Regions from separate parts of the Homo sapiens genome. Here region 2 is linked to region 1. The links are contacts of gene promoters, found by promoter capture Hi-C in human tissues and cell types (Jung and others, 2019). All regions are on one chromosome and are shown on one strand. The core of a region is centred on a gene start or on the middle of the fragment in contact, and the rest is flanking DNA. Distances in the headings are between cores, read along the strand shown. Region 1 holds the start of MTHFSD (methenyltetrahydrofolate synthetase domain containing). Region 2 has its middle 41 kb from the start of FOXL1.

Region 1 (3,997 bases), core at 429-2,928:
ACTTCTAACTTGAAAACATGGAACTGAAGAGAATGCCCTTCCTAGCACCACCTGCTTTCTAAAATTGCCACTGGCAGATTGTCCCTGGCGTCTCGTTACCATCTGGGGGCCGTGCCAGGCTGACCATCGGAGAGACTTGGGCTCTGTTTTGAGCACAGCTGGGTAACAGAATCCTGCACACACTTCCACTACTGGCACCAAGTCTACTTGCATAAAACACTCTGCAGATCTACTGTGCTTCCATGAAAGGCGGAAAGGACATCCAACCTCTGTGAGAGATTTTATTTTATCACCTCCAAAATGATGTTTGCACTGCTTTTGCCAGCCTGGTGAAAGACAGGCCCGCCCACAAGCAGAACTGAGGCTCCTCGGTGTCTCTATGTATTAATGTTGCGGACACCACATAGGAAGAGAGAGTTGTGATGGGACCCACAGGAGTTGCAATTAAGCACGTTGTCAGGGCTACACGCTCTGCCCTTTCTCTGCTGGGAGACTCAGGCCAAGCTTCTTTAACATGTCTGAGCCTCTGTTGCCTCCTGCGTAGGAGGCGGGTCACATTTGCCTCTGAGGGTTTGCTGTGAAACATAGTTAGCTATGACTTTTAAGGCGCTAAGCTCAATGCCTGGCATATCGTAGCACTGTTAATTACCATTATTAATTATGTCCTAAGGAGGTCAAACGGCACATTATGAGTTACCAGCAGACATGAGTAAGTCGCTTGTACACGGAACACCATTTTCTGTATCTGTTAAGTAGGCGGGCATTCAAACTCTTTTGTCTGTTTCCCAAGTGTGTTGTGAGGATCTCATAAAGTTTTGGGCATGCAATTTCGAAAGGTGGCAGCCACGTTTTGAGTGCTTGTGATGTACCAGGCACGTGGCTACGGGGATGCCTTCATTCGCTCAGGGAGTGGTTCCTAGTGGCTGGTCCCTGACATCTGTGTGTGTGCTGGGTGGGGGTGTGGGATGTCTTCTTCCTAATAAGTGAATGAACTGCCAGGCTGAACGCCCTCGTTTTCTTCCCGCGGGGCTGGGGCCAGAGAGGGAATGGACGTGACGGTCTGTGCAGCCTGGTCTCCTCGAGCCGCTTCTCGACCCTTAGGTTAGCAAACATGAAAGACATAGACAAGCAGACGCAGGCTGCCACGTTCGTTCTTTCTCAGGGTATGCAGAGGTCAGGGTAAGAATCCACGGGTGTTTCTCAAAGGATGGCCTCTGGCCGTCCGCAGCGCAGTCGCCGGGGCTGGGCTGGCCTCGAATTTCCATCTGCCTGCCGCTTTAAAGAGCTGCCGGCTGAATCCGCTGCACACCCACGTGTGAGCACCTGAGAGTCTGCAGGATCTCAGAGGAGGGAACCGCGTCCTACATGAGGAGCAATCAAGGCCGGCTTTCCGGAGGAGGCGGCCTCTAGGACTGGAAGAGGAGGCGGGATGTGTTTCAACCGGCAATGGGTCCCGAGAGACCAGGGACTTGTTCACTTCAGTAACTCCAGGGCTTGGCAAAACGCCTGTCACGGGCGGCGCTCGACAATGACTAGCTGAAAGCAAGAGCGAAGGGCCTGGGAGCATCCCTGACTGTCCCCGGCGCGGATTTTACCCGCCCGAGCATGCGCGCCTGGGCCTCGCCCGCTCAGCCTCCGCCCCTCCTACCATCGCGCAGGCGCGGAGCGGGTGACGTCACTACGCGCCAGAACCTGCGCCGGGAAGCGTCGCACAGCGACTGCATCACCATGGAGCCGAGGGCAGGTGGGGGGCCTGGCGGGGCTCCGGGGCGGCTGGGAATGGGGAGGGACAGCCGGGACCGGTGAGGGTCGAGGCGGGGCCACCGGGGCTGGCAGAGGATGGGGCAGAATCACCGGAAGCGGCCGAGGAGGTCAGAGGGGGTCTGTGCTGGGTTCGGGTCGAACCAGCGGCTCTCTCGCCCGGAATCCCGAGAAAGATGTCAGGAAAAATAAAGATAACGAGAAGACGAGGCGGGAGGGACACCTGCCGTGCACGTGGGGGAGCCCGTGGGCCCCTTGAGGTCGGGGAAACTGAGGCTCAGGAACAGGATCGGAAGCCGGTTTGACCTACACGCGGGGGTCGCTTAACTACTGTTAAGCGGTTTCAGCATGGGCTCTGGAATTCCTTTGTATGTTATTAAGTGGGAATCTTTTGTTGCAGTAGGTGTCTCCAAACAGGACATACGTGAACAAATTTGGGGCTACATGGAATCACAAAATTTAGCTGACTTTCCCCGACCTGTTCATCACAGGATACCCAACTTTAAGGTACTGACATATTTCTGGAGTCCAGAAAAGGAAAACAAAATATTCTTAAATGAATAACACTAGTAATAAAATTCTCTTACTGCGTCATGGTGGATGAGAATGTGGCGAGCAGTGAGCAGTGGTGTGAAATCAAAGCCATTTGGCCAGGGCGTCCTTAGCATTTAGAGACGTCATTTACTCTTCACCTGGGGCCTCTTGCGTCTCTGTGCAGGGTGGTTTGGTTGTCTCTAGGTGAGGTTGTGTCCAGAATTGGTGGGTTCTTGGTCTCACTGACTTCAAGAATGAAGCCTCGCAGTGAGTGTTACAGTTTTTAAAGGCAGCGTGTCTGGAGTTTGTTCCTTCTGATGTTTGGATGTGTTCAGAGTTTCTTCCTTCTGGTGGGTTCACGGTCTTTGCTGGCTTCAGGAGTGAAGCTGCAGACCTTAGCAGAGAGTGTTGCAGCTCACAAAGGCAGGGTGGACTCAAAGAATGAGCAGCAGCAAGATTTATTGCAAAGAACAAACCTTCCACAATGTGGAAGGGGATTGGAGAGGGTTGTTGCTGCTGGTTCAGGCAGCCTGCTTTTAATCTCTTATCTGGCCCCACCCACATCCTGCTGATTGGTCCATTTTACAGAGAGCCGATTGGTCCGTTTTGACAGGATGCTGATTGGTGCGTTTACAATCCCTGAGCTAGACACAAAAGTTCTCCACCTCCCCACTAGATTAGCTACATACAGAGTGCCCATTGGTGCATTCACAAACTCTGAGCTAGACACAGGGTGCTGATTGGTGTGTTTACAATCCCTTAGCTAGACATAAAGATTCTCCAAGTCCCCACCAGCCTCAGGAGCCCAGCTGACTTCACCCAGCAGATCCCGCACTGGGGCTGCAGGTGGAGCTGCCTGCCAGTCCCGTGCAGTGCACCCGCACTCCTCAGCCGTTGGGCAGTGGATGGCACCAGGCACCGTGGAGCAGGAGCGTCGCTCCTCGGGGAGGCTCTAGCTGCACAGGAGCCCGCCGGTGGGGGTGGGGAGGCTCAGGCATGGCAGGCTGCAGGTCTTGGGGAGGCAGCTAAGGCCCGGCGAGAAATAGAGCACAGCAGCTGGTGGCCCAGGTGCTAAGCCCCTCACTGCCCAGGGCCAGCCGCTGTGAGTGCGGGGCTCCCCACGCCTACATGGAACTCGCGCTGGCCCACAAGCACCATGCACAGCAGCAGTTCCCGCCCGCGCCTCTCCCTCCACACCGCCCAGCAAGCTGAGGGAGCCGGCCTGGGCCAGTCCAGAAAGGGGCTCCCACAGTGCAGCTGCGGGATGAAGGGCTCCTCAAGCACGGCCAGAGTAGGCGCCAAGGCCGAGGAGGCGCCGAGAGGGACCGAGGGCTGCCAGCACGCTGTCACCTTTCAAGGTGGTGCTAGTTGCTGTTTTCTGTTTGATACAAAGTAAAATATTTATCCTGGCCGGAAGCATGTTATTGTCGTAATGGCTTTTCACAAAATTGACCCTGCTAAGAGCGTTAGGGAATGAAGGGGTACTGAACTGGAAGTTCAGGCTCTAGGCCTTTGGAAAGAAATGAATGCCTTGCCAGCCTAAGGATGCTGGGCCTCAGTTTCCCAGCTGATCAAAATGTAAGACAATCAAAGATGGCTGTTCCTAACAGTGTTGACAGAAAAAAAAAAGGTTACTCGGAAGAGGCAATGCAGCAGTTCATCATCTTTGACATGCCTATTTTCCAAGAGCAAAAGAAAGCGC
Region 2 (3,997 bases), core at 408-2,907, 65 kb before region 1:
GATGGAAGGAGGAAGAGGAAAAAGCAGAGAGAGATGGAAGAAGAAATAAAGAAGAGATGGAAGGGTAGGAGAAAGGGAAAGAGGAAGGAAGATGTCCAGTCCTTAAGACGGCACCAGCCATTGGTGCCACAATGACCTAGCAGCTCCCATCTGATGGGGGCTCCGAAGGGTGCACAGGCTGGCCCTTTAGGGAGCTGTAGGGGCAGAAGAGTGTGCACAGCATTCTAAGAGAGTAAAGAGAGGAGAAAAATCAATGGCAGGCCGGGTGCAGTGGCTCATGCCTATAATCCCAGCACTTTGGGAGCCTGAGGCAGGTGGATCACTTGAGGTCAGGAGCTCGAAACCAGCCTGCCCAACATGGTGAAACCCCATCTCTACTAAAAATACAAAAAGTAGCCAGGCATGGCTGCAGGCACTTGTAGTCCCAGCTACTCAGGAGGCTGAGGCAGGAGAATCGCTTGAACCCAGGAGGCGAATGTTGCAGTGAGCCAAGATTGCACCGTTGCACTCCAGTCTGGGCGACAAGAGCAAAACTCCGTCCAAAAAAAAAAAAAAAGTCAGCATCAGCTGCCCCATCTTTCAGCCTATCTGGGAGTGAGACCAGCTTGCTCTCGGTGGTTCCTTCACCCTCGAAACACCTCTTCCCCACTGTGTTCCTCACAGCTTTGGTGTTTTCTGATTACAAAAGTAGTACACATGCATTTCAGGGAATTCAGAAAGCCCAGAATACCAGAGAACAAAATAAAAGAGGTCTTTAGATCCCACCACACATAAAATGTTGATGTTTACACTTGCAGATTCTCTTTCTTAACAAATAGAAAATCACAAACATAAGTGTGAGTATGGATGTGTGTGTTCTTATAAGTAGAGAATGGATTTATAGAAATGCTCTTTTGGAACTTGTTTTTTCCCCACTTAACATGTCATCATAACTTTTTCATGGTATTAAAAACATACAGCAATATCACCCTCTTTCATGGCTCTGCTGTATTCCACTGTATGGATAACTCATCACTTATTTAACCAGCTGTATCCATTAGGAGTGTGTTTGGCTGAACATAATAGACAACCCAGCCACAATGGCTTTAAAAATCAGGTTTATCTTCTCACATGTGCCAAAGTCATGGCCAGTGGTTCAGCAGGTTAACAACAGAGTCCACGTCTCTGCTGCTTTCTTGGCCATTCCTCATGGCACAAGGTGACTGCTGCAGCTCCAGACATCACATCCACATCAAGATAAGAAGGATGGGGGTGATGTTTTATAAAGAACACAAAGCTTCCCAGAAGTTCCTCCAGAAGACTTCTGCCTTGTGTTATGAGCCAGCATCAGCTCATGCAGCCACTTGTGACTGCAAGTGGGGCTGGGGAGGCCCTTGTTTGACCTGCAGTCTTTATGGCAGGAAACTGAGAGGATGCAAGGAGCCTGGAGGAAGACGAGGGATGGTGTTGGGTGGCCAGCAAATGGTGTCTGCCACACCTGCCCTCTGTTGAGAGCAAGATTCTCCTTCAGTTAATGCCGCCCCTTTGGGGTGCAGCAGAACCCCAGGTGTCCCTGCTACATGCACCCAGGCTTGAGTCCTCCCCAGTGCTCCAGGGACCCACTGACACAGCTCCAGCTGCCCCTTGGCCAGTAGAACTTCTAGTCCAATGCCTGCTCCCTCGAGCTTCTATGGATTTGATGCAGGGTGGGCGAACCCCAGATTGGGGCTTAACCAGGGCTTTTGCTTCACCCAGGAAAGAATTCAAGGGTGGGCTGGTGGTGGAAGAAAACAGCTTGACTGAAGCGGCACCATTGCAGCTCAGGCAGCGCGACAGCTCCGTGGCTGCTCCCGCAGAGCTGGGCTAACCCTTAGGCAGTGTGCTGAGAGCAGCAGCTCCCGGCAGTCCGGCAGTCATATTGATACCTACTTTTAATTGCATGCAGATGCAGGGGCGGTTTATGCAGAAATTTCTAGGGAAAAGGTAGTAACATCTGGGTCGTCGGAGTCATTTCCGTGGAAAGGAGTGGTAACGCCCACGCCCACTGACTGGGCACACTGATGGGCGTGGCTTATGGAGAGCTGCTTCCACCCCACCCTGTTTTAGCCAGTCCTCAGTCTGGTTCAGTGTCCAAGCCCCGCCTCCACAGTCGAGTCCCACCTCCTACCTCCTACCTCAGATTCATACCTGAGCTTCAATAGGAGCCTCTGGGAGCCAGCGCCCTGCTCCAAGAGAACGGCGGGAATGGCGGGATTCAGGCATGGGGGCAGCTCCGTGAGGGAGGTATTTGGGGACAGGTAGAGTTTTCACATCACCTCACATCATTTAGGGAACCACGCACGCAGTTGCGCACAGAGGGCAAAGCCAAGTCAGAAGGATGTGGTGCTGGCAAGCAGACCACTTTATGTTGCAGACAGCAACCGTGATCGCTGACACTTAGGAAGGCTCCCCATACACCAGCGGCTGTGCTGAGCACTTCACATCTACTTTCACTTTCCTCTTCACATCTGCCAGGGAAGAGATCCCAAATGCTCCACAGCCACTATAGCACAGGCACCAACCAGCAAGGGTGGACCCGCCAGCGCTGTCCTGTCCTGCAGGGCCCCTTGGACACACCCTACTGAACCAAGCATGAACCTTTCATTTTTGAATCATGGGACGAGTCCCCAGCTGGAGCAGAGGCTGCCAAGATGGCAAGGGGAGGCTCTCAGACGGCTGGACAGGGTTTGCTTATCAAGCTTGGCAACGTTTTAAAACTCAGCCCAGTCTGCAACTGTATACAGGCCGAATCTCAGAGAAAGCTTTCAAAGGGGCATAGGCTCCACCTGAAGATGGTGTGTTAGTCTGATTTTTGCGGCAATCACGCCACATACCGTCCCGCCCTCATCACAGTGGCTTAACAAAAGGTATTGTATTTTGTGCTCACAATACACAAAAGGGCGGCTGCGGCCTGGCTGATCTCTACTGGGCTCAGTTGTGCCAGGTTGGATCCTGGGCTGTGGGTCAAAGTCAAGGTCAAGTTTGCTCCCTGAGGTTCAGGATCTCTTTCTGAAACCCAGGCTGAAGGGCAGTGCCACCCAGGGCATGTTGTTCTCGGGGCAGAGGCCAGAAGGACAGGTCCCCTAAAGGCTCAGCTGGGAAACATGTACACCACTTCTGTCCCAGTTCAAGGGATAGAAAGTCACTCCACCTGCAGGCAGTTGGGGTTGGGGCAGGAAGGGAAGACTTGTGGACTTAATCAACCTATAGCGTGCAATAGAATTGAGGTAGACAGACAAGCACAGACATAGCTTGAACAAAGGCATGGAGGGAGGGTTATGGATGGCTTCCTAGAACAACCAAAGCCACAGGAAAAAGAGATGATTCTGTTTCTTTGTGTTTGAAAAAACAATATGGCAACCCCAGACGCATTTTGCAGAGATTTTACAAGAAGAACTTCTCATCATCCAGGAGAAGGCCCTTCTCTAGAGTCTTATCATTCCATTATTTTTAAATGAGAATGTGTTTACCCCAAAAGTTAAACAGGAAAAGGGGCTACCTAGTTCTCAAAGGCCACACACAGGCCATATGACAGAGCCCTCCGGTCATAACACCAGCATGTGAAAGGCACTGCAAAGCGAGGCTGAGTTGTCAGCATTGTACGTTCTGCTTATAAGATTAATCGTGATGGCCAGGCTGTGTGGCTCACGCCTGTAATCCCAGCACTTTGAGAGGCTGAGGCGGGCGGATCACCGAAGGTTGGGAGTTCGAGACCAGCCTGACCAACACAGAGAAACCCCATCTCTACTAAAAATACAAAAATTACCTGGGCATGGTGGCGGGCGCCTGTAATCCCAGCTACTCGGGAGGCTGAGGCAGGAGAATCACTTGAACCTGGGGGGTGGAGGTTGCAGTGAGCCGAGACCAAGCCATTGTACTCCAGCCTGGGCAACAAGAGTGAACCTCCATCTCAAAAATAAATAAATAAATAAATGAATAAATAAATAAATAAAAATTAATCCTGATGAATGAAGCGCTC

What was found. The method cuts DNA at HindIII sites, captures the fragments that hold promoters and counts their contacts. A contact is called where the count stands out against the background at its distance.
Region 2: a fragment that was not itself captured here is called in contact with the fragment with the promoter of MTHFSD in region 1 in 2 of the 25 tissues and cell types used here (mesendoderm cells and thymus).

What each region holds. Positions count from the first base shown.
Region 1 is chr16:86,552,916-86,556,912 of GRCh38, reverse strand. MTHFSD (methenyltetrahydrofolate synthetase domain containing) reads left to right here and starts at 1,678. Exons shown (of 8, transcript NM_001159377.2): 1 at 1,678-1,744; 2 at 2,162-2,268. The coding sequence starts at 1,729. FLJ30679 (a long non-coding RNA gene) reads right to left here and starts at 1,593. Exons shown (of 1, transcript NR_026674.1): 1 at 1-1,593. RefSeq lists enhancers at 1,396-1,685, 1,726-1,775, 2,744-3,406, 3,407-3,997 and a silencer at 1,608-1,821. The HindIII fragment of the contact is 6,717 bases long and covers 1-3,997 here.
Region 2 is chr16:86,617,592-86,621,588 of GRCh38, reverse strand. No RefSeq gene overlaps it. Among named protein-coding and RNA genes, the nearest start is that of FOXL1, 41 kb to the right of the region's middle. The HindIII fragment of the contact is 6,319 bases long and covers 1-3,997 here.